Linked DNA regions of Homo sapiens: regions 1, 2, 3, 4, 5 and 7 are each linked to region 6. Evidence: promoter capture Hi-C in 16 types of primary human blood cells and fetal thymus (Javierre and others, 2016). All regions are on one chromosome and are shown on one strand. The core of a region is centred on a gene start or on the middle of the fragment in contact, and the rest is flanking DNA. Distances in the headings are between cores, read along the strand shown. Region 1 overlaps KMT2E (lysine methyltransferase 2E (inactive)). Region 2 overlaps CDHR3 (cadherin related family member 3). Region 3 overlaps KMT2E (lysine methyltransferase 2E (inactive)). Region 4 overlaps SRPK2 (SRSF protein kinase 2). Region 5 overlaps KMT2E (lysine methyltransferase 2E (inactive)). Region 6 holds the start of PUS7 (pseudouridine synthase 7). Region 7 overlaps KMT2E (lysine methyltransferase 2E (inactive)).

Region 1 (3,018 bases), core at 143-2,642, 470 kb after region 6:
CACCTTGATCTCTCAAAGTGATGGGATTACAGGCATGAGCCACTGTGTGCCCAGCAAGAATCAGCTTCAAGTGCCTATCTTTGATCTATAGCACATTACTATAAATTCTGAAAAGCAATCTTTATATAGACTTTAGAGTTGAGAGAATAAAATTATTATATATTTTAAGTCCGTAAATTCTTATAACTATATGATCTGCAAACTAGATCTTTAATCCTTCATCAATTAAACAGTATGCAAAAAATTTCATAGTAAAAATACTATCACTCAAAAAATACCAGTACTTGTTAAAATTCTTTATACTGAATAATTTTACATCCCTTCTCTTCCTACGTTATGTCTCAATTTATTATATCATGGTCAGTAAACAATCACTTAGATAACATAGATATTAATAATAAATTTCAATCTCCCTCTCATCACTATTTTAATTCTGCCAGTTTCCTAATGCCTTTAAAAAAATTTCCAGCTTCCCAAAACAGGTATTAACCAAAACCGCGACTTAAAAAAACTTAGCATTCAATATACTGAAATCATGCCAATTTTTAAAGACTATTTATATATGAGGGACTTTTCATTCAATTATACAGCACCGTCAGGTGCTGTATTTTTGTACATCTTTCTACAATGAAGAGGCTATAAAATACGTTTAGCTGTAGTTCTATCTCTTCTTAACAACTGAAGTATAGTTAGGATATGGGCATTCAATAATCCTTCTTAATATAATAAACTTCAGGGTTAACTATTAGATCTTCAAGCAATACAGGCTGGGTGCAGTGGCTCATGCCTGTAATCTCAGCACTTTGGGAAGCCAAGGTGGGCAGATCACCTGAGGTCGGGTGTTCGAGACCAGTCTGGCGAACATAGTGAAACCCCATCTCTACTAAAAATAAAAAAAATAAAAAAATAAAAAAAAAAATTAGCTGGGTGTGGTGGTGCATAGCTGTAATCCCATTTACTTGGGAGGCTGAGGCAGGAGAATCGCTTGAACCCAGGATGCAGAAGTTGCAGTGAGCCAAAACTGCGCCACTGCACTCTAGCCTGGGCGACAGAGTGAGACTCCTTCTCAGAAATAAAAATAAAAAATAAATAAAAATAAAAAATGACCTTCAAGCAATATGATTCATGACTCAATGCTTACTATATGCCAAACCCTGTGCTAGCCATTGTAGATACAATGATATTAGTGATAAAACAGACAAGATGTTTATAGTCATAAAGCTTATGTTTTAGTAAAAATATAAAGCACGGCAGCAATGAAATAAAACAAGTATTTCAGATACTATTTTAGATAATGGAAGAGGGGAGGCCTCACTAGTATGTGATATTTGAGTTTAGCTAAGATTATGCCAAGAACATAAGAATGATCCAGGCAGAGGAAATCACGAGTACAAAGTCCCTAAGGCAGAAACAAATGTAAAATATTCAAAAGAACAACAACAAAAAATCAATATGGAAGTAATAGTGAGATAAGAGAATAGTGAGACGAGATTAGGGAAGGAGGGCCTTATGGTCATAAAAAGTTAATATTTTAAGTAAAACAGAAAGTCACTGGAAGCTTTTTAAGTGGGAGAATTGTATGATCTGGTTTATGCTTCAGAAGAAGCATAGTAGCTTCTACAGAAAATAAATGATAGAAGGCAAAAGAGAAACATGGAGAGTATTCCACTCCAGTGTCTAGTCAAGAGATTACAAGGGCCTGGATGAGGACAACAGTAGAAATGGATAAAAGTGTACTGATTCAAAATATACTTTTGGCCAGGCGCGGCGGTTCATGCCTATAATCCCAGCACTTTGTGAAGTCAGGAGTTCGAGACCAGCCTGGCCAACACGATGAAATCCTGTTAAAAATATAAAAATTAGCTGGGCGTGGTGGCGCGCACCTGTAGTCCCATCTACTCTGGAGGCTGAGGCAGGAGAACTGCTTGAACCCAGGAGGCAGAGGTTGCAGTGAACCAATATTGTGCCACTGCACTCCAGCCTGGGTGACAGAGCAAGACTCCATTTCAAAACAAAACAAAACAAAAATATACTTTGAAGGAGGACCCAGTACAGACCAATAAATTAGACATAGGGGTTAAGGGGAAAGGACCAATCAAGACTGACAGCTTAGAGTTTTAAGCAACTGGATAGAGATGTAGCCATTTAAAGAAATAGATGATGCAGGGGCAGTGGCTCACACCTGTAATCCCAGTACTTTGGTAGGCCGAGGCGGGCGTATCACCTGAGGTCGGGAGTTTGAGACCAGCCTGACCAACATGGAGAAACCCCGCCTCTAGTAAACATACAAAATTAGCTGGGCATGATGGCGCATGCCTGTAATCCCAGCTACTTGGGAAGCTGAGGCAGGAGAATCGCTTGAACCTCGAAAGCGGAGGTTGCAGTGAGCCAAGATCGTGCCATTGCACTCCAGCCTGGGCAACAAGAGCGAAACTCCATCTAAAAAAGGAAGGAAGGAAGGAAAAAAGGAAGGAAGGAAGGAAGAAAGGGAGGAAGGAAGGGAGGGAGGAAGAGAGGAAAGGAGGAAAGGAAGAAAGAGAGAGAGAGAGAAAAAAGAAAGAAAGAAGAAGAAAGAAAGAAAGAAAAGGAAAGAAAGAAGGAAAGAAAGAAATAGATGAGGCCTGGTGCTGTGACTCATGCCTGTAAATCCAGCACTTTGGGAGGCCGAGGCAGGTGGACCACTTGAGGCCAGGAGTTTGAGACCAGCCTGGCCAACATGGTGAAATCCCATCTCGAATAAAAATAAAAAAATTAGCCAGGCTTGGTGGCCACCTGTAATCTCAGCTACTCAGGAGGCTGAGGCACAAGGCTCACTTGAATCCTGAAGGTGGAGATTGCAGTGAGCTGAGATCATGCCATTGCACTCCAGCCTGGGTGACAGAGCAAGAGTCTGTCGAAAGAAAGAAAGACAGAAAGACAGACAGACAGACAGAAAGAGAGAGAAAGAGAGAAAGAGAAAGAAAGAAAGAAAGAAAGAAAAAAGAAAGAAAGAAAGAAAAAAGAAAAGAGAAAAGAAAA
Region 2 (3,214 bases), core at 278-2,777, 510 kb before region 6:
ATTTGACTCCGGGCCCCACAGATTTGCAATGCCTTAAATGGGCAATCAGCCACTTCACTCACTTTAACCTGCATAAATGAACAGTTCTGCCTTCTTTTGCAAAGTTTAAATCCATTCAAGGGAGTTCCCTGGCAACCAACCCTTATTAATAAATCACGCTCAATCTAGGCCAGGACAGGCATTTTGCAAATGCTTCTTTTGCTTGAGAAGTGACACTGGCACTAGGCACACAGTAAACAAGCTGCTGCTCTCTCTGAAGCTCTACATTTGCTGGATCCAGTCTGTCTCCCACAGGACCTTGTGGACCTGGTAGGCTCTCACCTGACTCCCCAGTTGGGAAGGGAGTGCTTCCCTAATGAACACTCACCTGGACCTTTCTTAGGGTTACTGGACTAGGGTCGCAGCAGCTGGGCAGCAGGGCATAGAGCTCGAGTGAAGCTTGCTCAGGCTCTGCTAGGCACACATTGGAAAGTTACATTTCCTATTCCATCATAATACCATTTATTCCCAGTTCATTGCTCATGCCTACAGGTGGAAGTCTGAGTTTTATGTCTAGATGGGGCTTCCAGTATGTCCCCACTCAGAGTCCTGCAGTTCCTTCCAATCATAGGAAGTGGGAAGGAGCAAGGCAGGTAGGTTGTAAGGCTGATGGTGTTTCAGCTTTGAGGAAAAAGTGATTTCACTTCAATAGTAATTTTAACCAGAATGGCTAAAGTTAAAAGGATTGACAATCCCAAGTGTTGGCAAGGATAGAGAGCAATTGCAACTCTCAGTGTTTGCTGCTGGAATGTGAATCAGAGCCACCACTTTGGAACTCTTTGGCAGATCCAGCAATTGCTCCAGCAATCCCACTCTTAGATATATGAGCAAAAAAGTGAGTGTTTATGTTCACCAAAAGACATGTACAAGAAAGTTCATAGTGTTGTAATTCACTTTTATTTTTTTTTTCTGAGATGGAGTCTTGCTTTGTCACCCAGGCTAGAGTGCAGTGGCACAATCTCAACTCACTGTAACCTCCACCTCTCAGGTTTAAGCAGTTCTCCCTACCTCAGCCTCCCAAGTAGCTGGGATTACATGTGCCCACCACCACACCAAGCTAATTTTTGTATTTTTTAGTAGAGACAGGGTTTTGCCATCTAGGCCAGGCTGATCTTGAACTCCTGACCTTAGGTGATCTGCCCACCTTGGCAAAGTGCTGGCATTACAGGCATGAGCCATCATGCCCTGCCTGTAGTTCACTTTTAAGTATATTTTTTAAAAGTAAAAAATCTGAAGCAGCTGCCACCCAAGTGTAGAATAGATAAATTGTGATATAATCATAGAATGAAACCAGACATAACCATGAAGAGAACTGAACTACTGCTAGACAGGACAACGTGGATGAATCTCACATGCAGGATGCTGATCCGGACACCACAAGAAAAAACAAAAGAAGGTGCCTACTGAGTTTTCTTCTTTCCAGATGACCAACTCTTAACTTACTCATCTGTTTTTTTCACTGTTCTGCTTCTTTTGAAGAAGATTTGAGGTGACTTACAAAGGTGTATGGCATATTTATAACTGAAGAAATCTGGGTGATGTTAAAACGAGGGCAGGAAAATAAGGTGGAAACCAGATGTAAGGATAGTCTTCACTATTTATGTCAGGAATTCCTACAAACTTTCTATGGTGAACAGAATAGAGCTTCCTAGCAGTCAATGCAAAGAAGAAACACAACAATTCCACACCCCAAAGTTAACAGTCTTGCTTATCAGAAGCACAGGTAGTTCTGAAATCTGATAGAAAATGTTCCTGTATCATTTCAGAACACGCAACTATGTGATCAAACCCCTTTCTATTTGTTTAAAAATTTGTCAAACATCCCATGTTTGACCCTGGATGTCTGAATCCCCTCAGCCCACATTTTCCCCCCTACACCATGCCCACACCATCCCCATAGAATTTAGGGTGAGGCAGCATCTCAGTGATTGACAGGCCCCTCCTTAGACCCCGTTTACTTTCCTGGGTGTGGTTTGGGGTAAGCCCTGTTCATGAAGGCTGGATTTCTGTTCTTTGGGTTGCCCAGCTTGCCACCCTCATTTCTGGAACCCAGACCAGCATCCTCAGCCCACGCTTTGCCACTCAGCTCATCTTCTTCCCAGTTGGCACTTCTCAGTGACCCCATCCCTTCCCCAGCAGTGACTCTGCGTGGGGCAGCTCCCTGGTGGCTGGACTCTTTCCATTTTGGCATTTGGGTTAGTGGATCTTTCCACTTTCTGGCTCCAGTTTTTGAGTTGAATTCATATGTTTCCCCGGTCACTAGTGAAAAAAAAATACAACAATCACATAAGCCAGAAAATTCCAATGACTGTCTCTTCCCCCACTTCTACCCTGCTCTGTTCTGACTCCCAAGGGAAGATGAAGCACACTAGAAGGTGTGAATCACTGACACAGACAGTAGGTGTGTGAATAGCCCCACAATCTCCACCAGCCTGCCCTTGCCACAAGCCGTGCTGCTCGGACCACACAGGTAGCAAACAGCAAACCTCTCTGGATAGAAAGGCTTAGGAGCGTCTCAAGGACATCTCAATTGCAGGATGAGAAGGCCATGTAACTCTTGAACTCCATGCAAGCTTTGGATAAATTAGGTTCAATCTCTAATGGGATTACCCGTTACTTTCTGATTCATTTTGTTTGTTTTAAAAGACCCCTGAATTCCTGCTATAAAAAGGAATTCACCAAGTGAGAAGGAAAAGGCTGATTTTTATTTATGTTAGGTTAGCAGCAATTTGTAGACACAGATACAAAAATCTGGTCCCGCTTGAGATGATACAAGGAAGCCATTTTTATTGTGTCCGAGCCAGCAGACACTAATTGACTTAGGCCAGTTGGCTCATGTCTTTCTTTTTTTTTTTTTCTCTCAACTACACAAAAACACAAAAATCCCCCCTTTTGCTCTGGAAGAGCCTTTTGCTCTGGAAGATCAGGTTTAAGGCAAGCCCTTGCTCCTTGTCTTTTCCATACAGCATGAGTGGCCTCTCAGCTCAGGATCCCACCAGCACTTATGCTAATGTGGGCACATTATGGTAACAAGCACCTAATAATAGAGGGAAATTTAATTCCAGCAGCAGCAGCAGCGGCGGCGGCAGCCTCTCACTGGAGAGGAGCCATCCTCCTTAGGAGGAGGACCGGTGCCGTTTGCATATGAGGGTGGCAGGAAGCCAACACACTTGCC
Region 3 (2,972 bases), core at 365-2,864, 500 kb after region 6:
TTTCTCTTGCTTTACTCTGAGAAACGCCACTCTACAAACCATGAACACCCACCCCACCACCATCTCTCTAACTAGTCTCAGATAATTAGAGGGGATCAAGATGGTGAATAGTGGCTCTTTGACACCTTGCCAATTCCTGTGAGGCCCATCTGTACTTTCTTCAAATAAATTATGTGAGATTTCCCTATAGCCTTATAACAAATCCTTTATTTAAGCTAGCTAGAGCTGATTTCTGTTCCTTGCATCCAAAAAACTCTAAAACAGCAGGCTTTTAAGAAGGTGAAATAAACTACGGGTTCTCTCAAAGCAGGGACAGTCTCATCTCTCTCTGCATCTGTGGTGCCAGGAAAATAATAGCTACTCAAATTCATCTTTTGTCTGTGCTTCAAAAATATTGTTACAGCGAAGGCTTAATGATGTAAGATGTAATAAGCCTGTGTCAAGGCAACCAATTAAGCAACTTCATTTAAAGAGAAGAAGCAGAGACTTATTTTCTGGGTAAGAGTTACTATGTATCAGACCAACCTGAGACCCCTATTTATGGCTACTGGACCACAGTCCTAACCATTCAAATTAGTCACATCATGAATCTTCCCATCTCAGCCACTTCATTAAAGAGGAAATGGGGTTTTCAAATTCCTGAACGCTGTCTTTCTTTAAATGTTACATAAAGCAAGATGGTAAGAGGAACTGGAGATATCTCTCTGTAAACTCAAAAATAGAAACGATTACATATATTAGTCTCTGAAATAAGAAAACAAAAATATTAGAAGAGTGTATGTTTCTCATACACATTCTCTGAAAGACCCAAACTATGTTTCCCTGACAATATCCTAAGTGGTAATGGTTAATTCTTTTCTTTTCACCATATTCCTCACTTTTTACTAAAAACCACTGACACTAGGCTTCATCTTAGGCCAAACGGTAAGGAAAAGATATTTAATCTTTAAGCTTATTTAACTCAAATAAGTTTAAAATAATTTATAAGTGTAAATTTTTAAGACTTTAAATGGAAATTATTTTAAATACCCTATGAAAACAAAAGTCAACATAAATGAAAAAATTTAAACATTTTTGGTCTCAGATAAAACATGAGACAGCATAATTACATAAACTTTATTTATTTTTTTAGAGATGCAGTTTCGCTCGTTGCCCAGGCTGAAGTGCACTGGCACGATCTCAGCTCACTGCAACCTCCGCCTCCCAGGTCCAAGCAATTCTCCTGCCTCAGCCTCCCAAGTAGCTGGGATTACAGGCACCCGCCACCAAGCCCAGCTAATTTTTGTAGCAGAGATGGGGTTTCACCATGTTGGCCAGGCTGGTCTTGAACTCCTGAGCTCAGGTGATCCACCTGCCTCAGCCTCCCAAAGTGCTGGGATTACAAGCGTGAGCCACCATGCCAGGCCAAGTGAACTTTAAAGTTGTAAGTACCACAAACCAAAACTAACTCAATCCACTATCGTATGCTAGACAGGCATGACCTTAAATGCTGCAACCAAGTTGGCTATTACACAGGTGTGATTACACAATATCATCTTTCTCAATATTAAAATTCAGGACCAAGAATTTTTTTTTTTAATTTACTTATTTACTTTTTTTTTTTTTTTGAGACAGAGTCTCACTCTATCGCCCAGGCTGAAGTACAGTGGCACAATCTCGGCTCACTGCAACCTCCGCCTCCTGGGTTCAAGCAATTCTCCTGCCTCGCCCTCCTGAGTAGGTAGGATTGCAGGCACCTGCCACCACGCCCGGCTAATTTTTGTAATTTTTAGTAGAAATGGGGTTTCACCATGTTGGCCAGACTGGTCTCAAACTCCTGACCTCAAATGATCCGCCTGCCTCGGCCTCCCAAAGTAGTGAAATTACAGGTATGAGCCACCGTGCCCAGCCTATTTTTAATAATTAATATCTGATATGTCCTAGTCTTCTGAAGGAATGTTTCTTCCTTTGGATTAACTCTAAATTAAGCAGCCTAAGAGGTGCTAAGAAATTACCTCTGTCCAATTGTCGTAAAAATAAAGCTACATAGATCATTGCTTATCACGTTGACCTGCATGCAGATCCTTTCTAAACCCAGATTTCATATTTGAAACAGTTTTGAAATACAAAATATTTTAATTAAAAATGATGAACAAGTAGTTTACACATATTATAGGTTAATTATTTACTCATTAAAAGACGTAGTGTCTGTTTTGATGGCATCTTAATGCAACACATCAAAAAAGAATTCTTTGTTGACCTGTTGCATTGAAAATGTCCAACATCCCAAAAAGCTTAAATAGTTTTGGTAAATAACCAAACGAGATTTCCAATAAAACTGTAAAATTCACCTAACAATAAAAAAAGTTTTTCTGTCCAAAAATAAAATCCAATTATGAGCTGTTCATGAGGGAAAAAAAGAACTGATTTCATATCAAGTGAAAACATGTTATCTCGTGAAATATAAGACCAACTGCTTTTCCTGACTCTGATTTAAGTAAAAAGCATCCTAGTTACCAATGGTTAATAAAAACTTCTTTTATCCTTAAAGATATGAATTAAAATCTAATTAACTTACTCTGGGTCACCTTCATTTGATTTTTAATGTAGCACTTAGCATGGAAGTTCACAATAACAAAAAAACAATTTGTTTGCATCATAATATGGTTAATTCTTATCTCTTGCAATTGCTATTAAAAATATTGCAATTGCTATTAAACAGAGTATTTTATATAAAGTAAAATACTCATTTTATATTATACAAAGTAAAATACTGTTTATTTTATATAATGCAAAATACTCATTGTTTAATAGCAATTGCAAGATTTTTAGTTAAATACCATCCACTTCCAGTTTAGTGTAGAAAACAATTTCAACAACAAATACTGTTCCTCCATGTTAAGTAAATTTGTAGGTAATACAAAAAATTATTCTTTCAATGTCAAGAAAAAAATAAGGCTCCTCCCAACATCTGCACATTACAGAACAGGTAG
Region 4 (3,014 bases), core at 143-2,642, 400 kb after region 6:
TGCTGTAAAGAGCAAAGAAAGCTCTTTCGTGGGCATTTGACAGCTACACAGGCTGGGCGTTGTCACTGCCACTCCTCTTGTTTATCCCTCCATCAGATGATGGGCGTTTGGTTTTCCCCCACTTTTTGGCTATTATGAATGATGCTACTATGATCATTAATGTACAAGTTTGTGTGGGCAGATGTTTCCGTTTCTCTTGAATACACATGTGAAAGTTTAAGTATAAATTTTTAAATTTTGATGAAGTCCAATTTATATACATTTTACAATTTGTGCTTTTGATGTCACATCTAATAAATCATTGCCTACTTCAAGGTCATGAAGATTTACTTTTCTAGGAATTGTTTAGTTTTAGCTCTGAGGCATATGACCTATTTTGAGTTGATTTTTGTATGGGATGTGAGGTAGGGTTTATACACATTTTAAACTCCAATATTTACCTACATTTGGTTGTCTACTTGTGTAAGAATTCATTCAGATCTCTTCATTGTCTCTTGCTTTGTATTGGTATTTCTTGGTAGGTTTACTTTCTACGTGTACACAATTGATGCTCATCAGTTTTATATCATGGTTTGCTTTGTAATTACCAGTGTTCATGTAAATATAGTCCAGGATTTGCCTTTAGAGTCCTCCCACATGTAGTGTGGAACCTCATGGGCTTCTTTATTTAATTCTGGAATATGACAATTTCATGGATAAAATAATGTATTTTCCTTCACAAACCACTTTAAGATTCAAGAGAAGTATAATAGAACTTCCCTGTTTCCTTAGAAGGACTCTGCAAGTCCAGGACTGGCCAGTACAGTTGCTGTCACAAAGCCTTTACTCTGCAGGAGGAACCCTTCCTCAGAGCCTGCTTCCTGTTGGTTTTCCTTGGCTCTTTCAAGCTGTTTCTCAGAGCAAATTCAGAAGCCTAAGGGGCTCTTGGGGACCACACAATTGGCTGCCAGGCTCATGTTTGCTTGTGTGTGTGTGAGTTGATACTGAGATTGACAGCTGATAGTCACAGGAAGGGTGAAGTGATATTCCACATTCTTTAAGGAGGACAGGCTAGAAATGGAACTTTAAGAAACTAAAATTGTCACAGTTGTCTAGTTATTTGCAAAACTTGTTTCAGTGAAACACATCTTCATATATTTTCTTTTCTCTCTTTTTTTTTTTACGTCTTCATATATTTTCTTTTTTCCTTTTTTTGAGACAGAGTCTCACTCTGTTGCCTAGGCTGGAGTGTAGTGATGCTATCTTGGCTCATTGCAACCTCTGCCTCCTGGGTTCAAACGATTTTTGTGCCTCAGCCTCCCAAGTAGCTGGGATTACAGGTGTGCACCACCACGCCTGGCCAATTTTGTATTTATTAGAGATCGGGTTTCACCATGTTGGCCAGGTTGGTCTCGAACTCCTGACCTCAGGTGATCTTCCTGCCTTGGCCTCCCAGAGTGCTGGAATTACAGTCATGAGCCACCGTGCCCGGCCGATGACATTTCTTTAACTTGTTAGGGTGCTACTTTTATAGTAAGAGCAAATGGTGAAAATGTGTTTTTAAAATATGCTTTCCCCTCTTATTCTTAATTATCATTCTAAGTGATGGAGGTGGCTACATTTCTTGGGCATCATCTGCAGGGCTGGAGCTGGCTCATGGACTCGAGACCCTCACTCATTCAGTGAGCCCACTCTTGTTGTGTCTCCTAGCAATAGATACAGAGTTGGGGGCTTGGGCTTTGTGTTTAAGTAACCTTATCAACTATTTCCAGGGCAAGGTTACTTCTTATACTGAGCTTAAGGGTTTGCACACATAATCATTATAGCATCTGGGTGAGTTGATTTTCCTTTGCATTATATTATAAACTTTTTCCACAAAAAAAGTCCACACATTTTTTTTTTTTTTAGAGGCGGTTCAGTGTTTTGTTATATTGCAGTGCTGCTCTGTGCTCAGGACCATAGGTGTTTAGGACTCTCCTGCATATACTGTTGTTTATAGACTGCTTCTTTGCACAGTCTTTACCTTGTTAAAAGTAGTTAGATATTTTACTGCTCCTTGCGAATATTTTTACCAGTTTATAGTATGCCTAGTTATGGATGAATAGTTTCTCATGGCCTTTCACTATTATATTGTTTTGCTCACTGTTACTATGCAGCTGTTAAGCATTTATAGTGGTAAAACTTCTCTTTTCATGGAAGATTGTACTTAAAAGATGCCTTGTTGATGGATCTTAGTTTAACACCTGGCGCCTCAGAAATAGGTTCCTTTACTATTCTCAGCACACAGTGCTTCTCTGTAGTTACCTATATTTGCAAACCTGGAGAGTATTTTTTCTGAGATAGAATAGATTCATGTCATAAAAGTTCGCTCCCTTTCCCAGAGAACTTGGTTTAGTCACATGTGAGCTTTCTTAGTTTGCTTTAACTGTTGCTGTGGTGAGATCAACAGTCTAAATCAATATAGTCATATTACAGAAAATGTGGAAATTGAAATAACCTACTAACAAAAGCTGATGTTTTGATTCAGTTGATTTCCATCTTAATGAGCATTTTAATAATCTTGTGATTATCTGTAGGACATAGTTTGACTGTTCTTTTACTGCCTAATGTTGTACCATGATCTTCTCCCATGTTGTTAAGTAATATTAAATACTATTAAGTGAATCTACCTTGGTTTTCTTTTAACCACCATTTTACTATTACTGGCTCTTCGTAATTTTGCGAGTACATATAATTTTGTGCCAGCATATATTAGGCATGAATTTGGGGTGGTGCAACCAGGGTTTATCTCCTTGGGCTGGATTCCTAGAGCCGGAATTTCAGGCTTAGAGGGATAAACCTGCAGTCTCTGTTCAGACTTTGTTTTTATGGAGACTGTGTTTCCTTCAACAGGAGATCCTTTCCCGCCTCTAATATTACAGGTTCATTTCTTCATCAACACAGACCTGATGTCTAGTCTGGATGCGATGCTTTACTCTAGCTCCAGTCCTCATATTGGAAACAGAAGCTTATTTTACATCTCAGCCCCTTTAGCA
Region 5 (3,353 bases), core at 812-3,311, 440 kb after region 6:
AGAAGAAGTTGAATTGCTAAAGATGTATGGTAGATTGAGGTGTGCAGTTGTAGTTCTCCACCATCTCAAGATAAATGAATCCAGCATAAGTACCATTGTAAAAAATAATAATAAAAGGAAATTTGTGGAGCCATCACCGCAGCTGGGCCGCAGAATGTGAAAACCATGCACTTTTTGCAATATACCTTTTTATCTTGTATTGCAAATGAAGCTTTTATGTGGGTGCATGCGTGCTATATAAGAAAGACATAGCTATAGATCCTAATATGTTTCTAGAAAAAGTGAAGTCATTAAATGATAACATAAAACAAAAGGAATATGAAAGACCTAAAATTGGAGCATTTAATGCCAGTAATGTATGGTTTGATGATTTTAAAAAGAGGTCTAGCTTAACAGGTAAAGCCACTTCTGCTGAATAAGAGGCAGCAGATGAGTTCTCAGACACCATTAAGAAAATCACTGAGGAGAAAGAGTATCTGCCTGAAAAGTCTTTTAATGCAGACACAAATGTCCTATTCTGGGGGGGGAAAGTCATAAAAAGACATTTATTAGTAAGGAAGAGAAGGAAGCACCAGGATTTAAGGCAGGAAGGGACAGATTAACTCTACTGTTTTGTGCAAATGCATTTGGGTTTATGATCAGGACTGCCCTTATCTATAAAGCTGCTAAACCCAAGCCTTGAAGGGAAAACAAACGGAAGCTGCCAGTCTTTTGGTTGTATAACAAGAAAACCTGGAGGAGAACCCTTTTTCTGGATTGGTACCATTGATGCTTTGTCCCTCAAGTCAGACAACAGGTAGCTAGGAAGGGATTGCCTTTTAAATGTCTTTTGATACTGGGCAATGCCCCTGGCCACCCAGAACCCTATGAGTTCAACACTGAGGGCATCAAAGTGTCTCTAATTCAGCCTCTAAATCAAGGAGTGATAATGGCCTTTAAGGCTCATTACACACAGTACTCTATGGAAAAGAATGTCAACACTATGGAACAGAACCCTGAAAGAGAAGATCATGAAAGTCTGGAAGGATTATACCATCGAAGATGCCATCATTATAGAAAAAGCTGTGAAAGCCATCATGCCCAAAACAATAAATTCCTGCTGGAGTGAACTGTGTCCAGATGTTGTGCATGACTTCACAGGATTTACATCAGAGCCAATCAGAAAAATCATGAAAGAGATCATGGATATAACAAAAAAAGGTGGGGATGAAGGAAGAATACAGATATGGATCTCAGAGAAATTCAAGAGCTAATAGACACCACACCAGAGAAATTAACAGAAGATGCCTAATGGAGATGATTGCTTCCAAACCAGTGCCAGATGATGAGAAAGAAGATGTAGAAAAAGCAGTGCCAAAAAACAAATTTACATTAGACAATCTGGCAGAAGGGCTCCATTGTTTTCAAGACTGATTTTTTACTTTTTTATGATATGGACTCTTCTATGATATGGGCACTGAAGCTAAAGCAAATGACGGAAGACTGGCACCATATAGAAACATTTTTAGAGAAATGAGAAAGCAAAAAAGCCAGGCAGAAATTACTAATATGTTTTCATAAAGTTACACCATATGTGCTTCCCTCTCCTGCCTCCCCTTCTACTACCCCTTCTCCCTCTGTCACCCCTGAGACAGCAAGAGCAACCCCCACCCTTCCTCCTCAGCCTACTCAACATGAAGATGAGGATGAAGACCTTTACGATAATCCACTTCCACTTAATGAACAGTAAATATATTGTATCTTCCTTATGATTTTCTTAAAAACATTTTCTTTTCTCCAGCTTACTTTATTGTAAGAATACAGTATAAGACATACAGAATATGTGTTAATTGTCATTGGTAACACTTCCAGTCAACCGTAGGCTATTAGTAAAGTTTCTGGGGAGTCAAAATGTATACGCAGATTGTGGACTGTGCAGGCAGTTGGTGCTCCAACCCCGCATTGTGCAAGGGCCAACTGTACTGAGATTTATCATTAGTTTTTTACTAGTATTTCAGAAAAATAGTTCTTAGAGTTTCTTTGTAGGATCTCCAACAAACCCTTTTAATTTATACTGCAAAGAAAATTTTCTTTTGTTTTGAGGGGCAAAAGACAAATTATTCATTCATACTGATTAACCAAATAAACTGTATGACTAAAATTATATCCCCTAGAAGAAGAAAAAAATTCTCACATAAACAAGGTCAGTGTTGTATGGCTGAATTAGGGTTACTTGTTATAATTACTGTGAACATTTACATTACAATAATAATTAAGGAAAATGTAGAAATGAAAAGTAGCAATGCTGTAATAGAGGCTGATACTAAACTTCTGGTTTTCAAGTACTTTTAACTGATTCATGATAGATAAAAATAAAAAGCTATAAAAGTAATGACAATACCTAAATTATTACAGGGACATTATGGAACTATTTTCAAACAACAGATTACATTTATAGACTTGAACTCACCAATTTCCATAGTCAAAATCAAAGGCAATAGTAATTTCAGTTCCCTTTGGAATACTGTGTATAGAATAAATATAAAGATGTATGGTTCCATCTTGAATTTCATGCCTCACCTAAAAGTTAAAATAATTGTACATTACCATAAATTACTTTCTGCCTTCAGAAGCATCAGCTTACAATTTTGAAAATTATTCTTTTCAAATTATTTCACAAACACAACCTGGAAAATATGTCATTAATGACAAGGCTTATAACTATCTATTGGTGGTTATCAACTGGGAAGGTTTTTCAATCATATACTGCTATCCACTGCCACCCCAACCCCTAGAGCCCACAATGTGGCATCAAAATAATAATAATAATAATAATAATAATAAAAATACTATATTTCATCAATTCTTCTTATTTTTATTTTTTTGAGACGAGTCTCACACTTTCGCCCAGGCTGGAGTGCAGTGGTGCGATCTCGGCTCACTGCAAGCTCCGCCTCCCAGGTTCACGCCATTCTCCTGCCTCAGCCTCCCGAGTAGCTGGAACTACAGGCACCTGCCACCATGCCCGGCTTATTTTTTTTTGTATTTTTAGTAGAGACGAGTTTTCACAGTGTTAGCCAGGATGGTCTCAATCTCCTGACCTCATGATGTGCCGGCCTCGGCCTCCCCAAGTGCTGGGATTACAGGCGTGAGCCACCGCACCCAGCCTCATCAATTCTTTTTTTTCACCTTTTAGCATCTCTGAAATCAGGAGTCTTATAACTGGTGGCATCTTAGGGTTTTTTGTTGTTGCTGTTGTTGTTTTGAGACAGAGTCTCACTCTGCCATCCAGGCTGGAGTGCAATGATGCAATCTTGGCTCACTGCAACCCCAACCTCTCAGATTCAAGTGATTCTCCTGTCTCAGCCTCCCAA
Region 6 (3,455 bases), core at 152-2,651:
TTCACCATGTTGGCCAGGCTGGTCTCAAACTCCTGACCTCATGATCCGCCCACCTCGGCCTCCCAAAGTGCTGGGATTACAGGCGTGAGCCACTGCGCCCGGCCGGTAATAGTATATTTCATTGTGTAAAAAACAAAACAAAAAAACAAATTGGGCAGGGCATGGTGGCTCATGCCTATAATCCCAGTACTTTGGGAGGCCTAGGCAGGCAAATCACTTGAGGTCAGGAGTTCAAGGCCAACAGGCAAAAACCCCGTCAAAAAAATTAGTCTGGCATGATGTCAAGCACTCGTAGGCCCAGCTACTCGGGAGGCTGATGCAGGAGAATCGCTTGAACCCTGCAACAGAGTGAGACTCTCTCTCAAACAAAATAAAACAAAACGGAAAAACTATTAGAGGCTGGGAGCGGTGGCTCACGCCTGTAATCTCAACACAGAGGCGGAGGCGGGCGGATCACGAAGTCAAGAGTTCGAGACCAGCCTGGCCAACATAGTGAAACCCCGTACTCTACTAAAAATACAAAAAATAAGCCGGGCATGGTGGCGTGCGCCAGTAATCCCAGCTACTCGGGAGGCTGAGGCAGGAGAATCGCTTGAACCCGGGTGGCGGAGGTTGCGGTGAGCAGCGATCGCGCCATTGCACTCCAGCCTGGGCGACAGAGCAAGACTCCGTCTCAAAAAACAAACAAACAAACAAAAAGCAAAAAAACTATTAGAGCCTGGGCAACATAGTGAAATCTTGTCTCTACCCCCCACCCCCAAAAAAATTAGCCTGGGTGCGGTGGGATGCACCTGTAGTCCCAGCTACTTGGGATACTGAAGTGGGAGGATTGCTTGAGCCTGGGAGGTCGAGGCTGCAGTGAACTGTGTTCACGCCACCGCACTCCAGCCTGTGCGACAGAGCGAGACTCTGTCAAAACCAAACCAAACCAAAACAAAAAAAACCTATGATCCGGTTTCTTGAAGCAGATCCTATGGCAAGCCATCAAGCCAGAGCGGTAAGAAGTAGGAAGATGGTGCTTTTAGATCCACTACATTCCCAGGATCAAATGTAGAACAATATTTAGTCCCTAAAGTGATTCTCTTTCCATTATTGTCAACTGCGTGGTCGGTGCAACGTGAAAGGGCCACAACTATGTGAAGGAAACACTTAGAATATAACACCAAAGGAGGCAATCGCTGCCTTAGACTTCCTAAAGATCTAAAGAACTCTTAGATGCTTGGTGAAATCGCTCTCTGCCGCTGGTGCGACTCAGGCGCGGTCGCGAGGAAGGTCCAGGGTGAACGCGCGTAGGCTGGGAGTCCGCGTTGGGGCGCTCCCTGGCTTGCAGGCCGCTCCGAGTGGGTGGGCCGGGGGCGGGGCCGGCGGCAGGGAGCGGACTCCGCCCCCGGGGCGGGTCCAGTCGGGCCGCGGCGCGTCGCTGCGCCGCACGTGTGCGAGCCCGGCCGCCGGTGAGTCGGCTGGAGCGCATCTGGTCCTCCGCGCGGAAAGCGCTGCTTTTGCCTGGCCGCCCTAGCCGCTGGCTCATCCAAGTGGCCTTCGCCGCTCTCTTGCGTCCCAACCAGAGCGCTGGCCACCTCGCCGCCCAGCTCACGCCGCGCCCGCGCTCCCAGGCTCCGGGTAAGTGCGCGGCCTCCCCGCGGCCGCCGGGGCTCCTCGGCCTGGCCCTGGCCCCAGCCCCAGCCCCAGGGCCCCGCCCCAAGAGGCAGTGCGGACTGGGAAGGCGGACTGGGAAGGCGGCCCCGCAGTGGTCAGAGCCCGCGGCGCCTCCATTATGGATCGTGCCAGCGGGAGCACGGTTGGAACCCAGTGGGTCCTGCGCTTCGGCGGTGCAGGCGCCGCTCTCCGCTCCCCGCTCCCCGCTCCGCTCTGCCCGGCCAGTCGTCCGGAGGCGCCGCGCCCGAGCGCTCCCCTCCTCCCCGCGCGGCGCTGTCCCCCGGGGGCCCCCTTCCCACTCCTCCCTTTCTTTGCCCCGGACGCTCCCTAAACTCTTGTCCCTCCGTCAGAGGAACACTGGCCCTGAAGCCCTTCACGGTGCCACTGCTTCGCCGCGCCTGCCTTCTGTGGGTCCAGCCCACGTGTTCCACCCCTGTGTCCTGCGTCGCCGCTCACTGGGAGCCTACTAGGCGCCACGCGGGCTCTGGGGACTGCTTGCTTTGTATGCATTTCCCAGAGTAGGAGTGGACGGGCTGCAGACTCAGAGTGCTTTCTCCAGCCCTCAAGCTGGGTGAATGCTTAACGAGTGGATGGAGGTGCTGCTGTGCAAGCTGAAATTCGAGTCCTCCTCGTCAGCCCTGCGCAGAGGTGTTTAGAAGCACACCTTCGTTGCCTGCCGAGTAGGGTTGGCAAAGAGTTTAGTTTTTAAAATATTTGGTCCCGTCAGACTACTTTTTTTTTCCATTCCAAAAATAAAGGGTTACTAAGGTTCCCTCCCCCCCATCCCCAAGCCTCTAATCATCTATGAAATGACTATGCCCCATTGGCCTGGGGGAGCCTCGACTATTGAGGGATCTGTCGAAAATCAGACTGTACAACACTATTGAAAAGGGGTTGGTTAGGCAATTGTTAGGTTCAAACATTAGGAAAGTAGCCAACAGTACGTACTTAACAACTCCTTGTGAACATGTTTTTGGTTTTTTTATTTTTATTTTTTTAATTTTTTTGAGACAGAATTTTGCTCTTGTTGCCCAGGCTGGAGTGCAGTTGCGTGATCATCGCTCACTGCAGCCTTGAACTCCTGGGCTCAAGCAATCCTCTCACCTCAGCCTCCCAAGTAGCTGGGACTATAGGCATGTGCCACCACACAGGGTCTCGCTGTGTTGCCCAGCCTGGCCTCAAACTCCTGACCTTAAGCAATCCTCCTGCTTTGACCTCCCAAAGTGCTGGAATTACAGGCTTGAGCAACCACACTCGGCCTTGAACATATCTTTGTTTTTTGATTTATTTTTTTTAGACGGAGTCTCACTCCATCACCCAGGCTGGAGTGCAATGGCACGATCTTGGCTCACTGCAACCTCAGCCTCCTGGGTTCAAGCGATTCTCCTGCCTCAGCCTCCGGAGTAGCTGGGATTACATGTGCACGCCACCATGCCCAGCTAATTTTTGTATTTTTATTTATTTATTTATTTATTTATTTATTTATTTATTTATTTTGAGACAGTCTCGCTCTGTCGCCCACATGTATTGCAGAGGCAGCACCTCCATCCACTCGTTAAGCATTCACCCAGCTTGAGGGCTGGAGATGTATTGCAGTGGCGCGATCTCGGCTCACTGCAGGCTCCGCCTCCCGGGTTCACGCCATTCTCCTGCCTCAGCCTCCCGAGTAGCTGGGACTACAGGCGCCCGCCACCACGCCCGGCTAATTTTTTATATTTTTAGTAGAGGCGGGGTTTCACTGTGTTAGCCAGGATGGTCTCGATTTCCTGACCTCATGATCTGCCCGCCTCTGCCTCCCA
Region 7 (3,101 bases), core at 117-2,616, 420 kb after region 6:
TGACATCATAAATATCAATGCTCAAAAGTAAAATTAAGTCCAAATGTTTGTGATAAATGTAAAAAATAATTGCTATGATACTATCAGCAAACTACTTCTATTATTGGTGGATATGGGGAGAAAAAACATTTCTGTTCATTGAAGACCTTTCAGAATTCCCATCATCTTGGTAAGCCCTGTTATTGCAAATATTTCATGAAGGAAACACTTGGATGACTGAGTGTTAATGATAAGGGTAAAACAAAACAAAAAAGCCTCAAAAATTACCTTGTTTTACCAAACCGAAAATCTTTTCTCTTAATAATACAGAAATCAGCCTTTTAAAAAAAGATCCAAAATCCCTAAGGTAATGATATGTTGAAAAGGTAAAATTCATATGCACTTGAGTGAGTATATTATTGGCATACTGCAGCAGGATGTTGTGAGGTAAAGTCTTGCATTTAAAAATTATGATTCTCATTTGGTAAGTATCTCTGTGACTCCAGGCAAGTTAACCTTTCTGAGACAGTAAGATGTGGGTAATAAAATCCTTTCCAAAGCTTGTTCTCTTCTCTCTTTTCAAGTCTGGCAAGAAGTTCATTTATGATGAACTTCTCTGAGTTGTTATTTGGTTCCAACAGAAAATACGAGGTTTTCAAACAGTAGTTGGAAAATGGTGGGCGTTCTGTATGTTAATTATTATTTCTACTTTAGTCCTCTTGCCCTCCATTGTAATTCTTATAAAGTATTCCTCTACCTTCTGCTCTTCCTGTCTTCACTGACAATTCAAGACAGGGACTGAGAAACAGCCAAGTGTTCCTTTGAGCATCAGTTCTCTATCCAAAGAGAACATTAAGAGTAAGACCCAGAGCCTTGACAGATGCTTCAGCTCTAAACCAGAACCAGGAACCACATCCATCAACTGTCCAGTTCTTAAAATGAAAAGAACCACAGGTCCTGAGGCTCAGATCCATTTGTCTTTCCTCCTTTATTACACATCGATGTGAGGAAGAAAGATCAGAAACTCAAGGTCTGGATGCCACAGTCTTCTCAATATTGGAGCTTTAGTTCCAGTAATTACCAGCAGAGATTCAAGCCTCAAGATACCTACACTTTGGAAACTACTGTTTACCTGTTCCTGTATTTTTGTTGTTGTTGTTACACTCAGCAAGGGAACAAAATACTATGTCAACAAAAGTACTCTAATAATACTTCTAAGTTTCTAATTTGTTACAGCAAATTTCCATATTGCAAACATGACTCTGAGGAAACTGAGGTCCAAAGAGGTAAGGTTCTTTGTTCATGGATTACGTATCTGTATCTCACTTCTCCTAGTCTGGGACGGGCAAACACTACAATAGCACATGCAAAAGATGGTTCTACTTGTTCACTGGCACTGAAAGTTTTACAGCTGAGTTCTTTCCTTACAAAATTCCTTATTTTTGGGCTTTTAAATTACCTTTACCCCTTTTTGTCTTGTGGTTCTCTGTAAAACTGTTTTTATCAGGGCTTCTCTAAAACCCTGAATGTAGAAGAGGAGAAATTTGGAGTAACTAAAAAGATCATTTTCCCAAACTGCGCTTTACCTGATGAACCTGGTTGGAGAGGAGGGATTAATTACTATGGTTATTTCTTTTCAAAAAATTTAAAATAAAAAATTTGGGGAAAGTACATTTTTCCAGAAGAAACAAACTTGTCTTGGCAAAAATCATTGTATGTGTAAAATAAAAAACTACCCACAGGTGGGCACCCAAGGAAGATATTTTTTGTAGTATGATTATCCTGGGTGTTGTAAGGTAAATATGAATTTATGCCAACAGAGTCTGACATAGTCCAATATTTTCTTGTTTGGGATACAAGAAATATTTTCTTGTTTTGGTCAGAGATAAAACTATATGATATAAACATTCAATTAAAAAATCAAACTCCCCTGTAAACACTACAGCTAATTTATAGTCAGAGCAAAATCCTGTATTTAGAGATGGTTCATAATCTTCTAGAGTTGATCAGGATCTTAAAAAATAATGTGGTCCAATACTGCTGAAGAAACCAAAGCCCATGTGTATTAAGTGACTCATTCAAAAGCAGAGCCATAATTACTATGCAGGTTATGCAGGTTTCCTGGTTTCTGTATTACTCTTCTTTCCAATTACTGCCGCTACATAAAGCAAAACTCTTCCTACATTACTACAGCTGGGTAAGAATAAAGCTTAAGCACTAAACATTTCCTAACAGCTTTAGACCTAGCTTTATCTTAAAATACACAAATATTTTGGAACATAAACGTGCCTGATTTTCTACATTTATTTTTAATTTCTTAAAGGTCATACATCATTCAGCTTTTCTAGTCACCATTACATACAGTACATTCTTTGACACAGCCATGTATATGGTACCTATTTAAAGACAAAATTTGCCTCCCATTTTATAGCTCTAACTGAAAAATAAGTTTTATTCTTTGAGGTAGTTAGAGCTGACTCTGGAGATAGAGAAATTAGGATTCCTAATTAACCCCTGCAGACTTTCCATAGCCCCTAACACCTGTGCTATATAATCTAAACTCGATAGATTTCCCATGAAATCTATACATTGTTTTTATGACATATGTCTTAGTTTATGGTTTTCCAAGAGTAAATACCAAGCATTGTAATTTCCTATAAGCAGTCTGCTTAATAATATCCCCATCACAAAGCAAGACTCCCATCTCCACAAAAAAATTTAGGCTGGGCGCAGTGGTTTATTATGCCTGTAATCCCAGCACTTTGGGAGGCCGAGGAGGGTGGATCATGAGGTCAAGAGATCAAGACCATCCTGGCCAACATGGTGAAACCCTGTCTTTACTAAAAAAACAAAAATTAGCCAGGTGTGGCACGCGCCTGTAGTCCCAGCTACTCAGGAGGTTGAGGCAGGAGAATCACTTAAACCAGGGAGGTGGAGGTTGCAGTAAGCTGAGATTGCGCCACTGCACTCCAGCCAGGTGACAAAGCAAGACTCTGTCTCAGGAAACAAACAAAAAAATTAGTGGAACATGGTAGCATGCACCTGTAGTTCTGGCTACTCCAGACACTGAGGCAGGAGGATTGCTTGAGTCCAGGAGTTGGAGGCTGCAGTAAGCTATTGGT

Evidence for each region. The method cuts DNA at HindIII sites, captures the fragments that hold promoters and counts their contacts. A CHiCAGO score of 5 or more calls a contact.
Region 1: a contact is called between a fragment that was not itself captured here and the fragment with the promoter of PUS7 in region 6, in 2 of 17 cell types (total CD8 T cells and naive CD4 T cells). The highest score is 7.2, in total CD8 T cells.
Region 2: a contact is called between a fragment that was not itself captured here and the fragment with the promoter of PUS7 in region 6, in 1 of 17 cell types (total CD4 T cells). The highest score is 5.0, in total CD4 T cells.
Region 3: a fragment that was not itself captured here is called in contact with the fragment with the promoter of PUS7 in region 6 in 5 of 17 cell types (neutrophils, total B cells, fetal thymus and 2 more); the score reaches 6.7 in neutrophils.
Region 4: a contact is called between a fragment that was not itself captured here and the fragment with the promoter of PUS7 in region 6, in 7 of 17 cell types (total B cells, naive CD8 T cells, naive B cells and 4 more). The highest score is 8.8, in total B cells.
Region 5: a fragment that was not itself captured here is called in contact with the fragment with the promoter of PUS7 in region 6 in 1 of 17 cell types (naive B cells); the score reaches 5.1 in naive B cells.
Region 7: a contact is called between a fragment that was not itself captured here and the fragment with the promoter of PUS7 in region 6, in 6 of 17 cell types (total CD8 T cells, total CD4 T cells, neutrophils and 3 more). The highest score is 8.7, in total CD8 T cells.

What each region holds. Positions count from the first base shown.
Region 1 is chr7:105,050,627-105,053,644 of GRCh38, reverse strand. All of the region lies in intron 3 of KMT2E (lysine methyltransferase 2E (inactive)), which reads right to left. Among named protein-coding and RNA genes, the nearest start is that of KMT2E, 38 kb to the right of the region's middle. The HindIII fragment of the contact is 337 bases long and covers 1,224-1,560 here.
Region 2 is chr7:106,031,477-106,034,690 of GRCh38, reverse strand. CDHR3 (cadherin related family member 3) reads right to left here. Exons shown (of 19, transcript NM_152750.5): 19 at 1-2,298. The coding sequence ends at 1,994. Among named protein-coding and RNA genes, the nearest start is that of CDHR3, 70 kb to the right of the region's middle. The HindIII fragment of the contact is 2,174 bases long and covers 441-2,614 here.
Region 3 is chr7:105,018,743-105,021,714 of GRCh38, reverse strand. The region is part of intron 1 of KMT2E (lysine methyltransferase 2E (inactive)); the gene reads right to left. Among named protein-coding and RNA genes, the nearest start is that of KMT2E, 6.0 kb to the right of the region's middle. The HindIII fragment of the contact is 1,322 bases long and covers 954-2,275 here.
Region 4 is chr7:105,119,525-105,122,538 of GRCh38, reverse strand. The region is part of intron 15 of SRPK2 (SRSF protein kinase 2); the gene reads left to right. Among named protein-coding and RNA genes, the nearest start is that of KMT2E, 110 kb to the right of the region's middle. The HindIII fragment of the contact is 3,192 bases long and covers 1-2,988 here.
Region 5 is chr7:105,080,894-105,084,246 of GRCh38, reverse strand. KMT2E (lysine methyltransferase 2E (inactive)) reads right to left here. Exons shown (of 27, transcript NM_182931.3): 13 at 2,450-2,559. Among named protein-coding and RNA genes, the nearest start is that of KMT2E, 68 kb to the right of the region's middle. The HindIII fragment of the contact is 3,696 bases long and covers 214-3,353 here.
Region 6 is chr7:105,520,217-105,523,671 of GRCh38, reverse strand. It overlaps PUS7 (pseudouridine synthase 7), which reads left to right and starts at 1,401. Exons shown (of 16, transcript NM_019042.5): 1 at 1,401-1,620. RefSeq lists enhancers at 136-636, 1,920-2,574, 2,889-3,455 and silencers at 1,273-2,022, 2,232-2,377. The HindIII fragment of the contact is 10,027 bases long and covers 1-3,455 here.
Region 7 is chr7:105,098,303-105,101,403 of GRCh38, reverse strand. All of the region lies in intron 15 of KMT2E (lysine methyltransferase 2E (inactive)), which reads right to left. Among named protein-coding and RNA genes, the nearest start is that of KMT2E, 86 kb to the right of the region's middle. The HindIII fragment of the contact is 1,649 bases long and covers 542-2,190 here.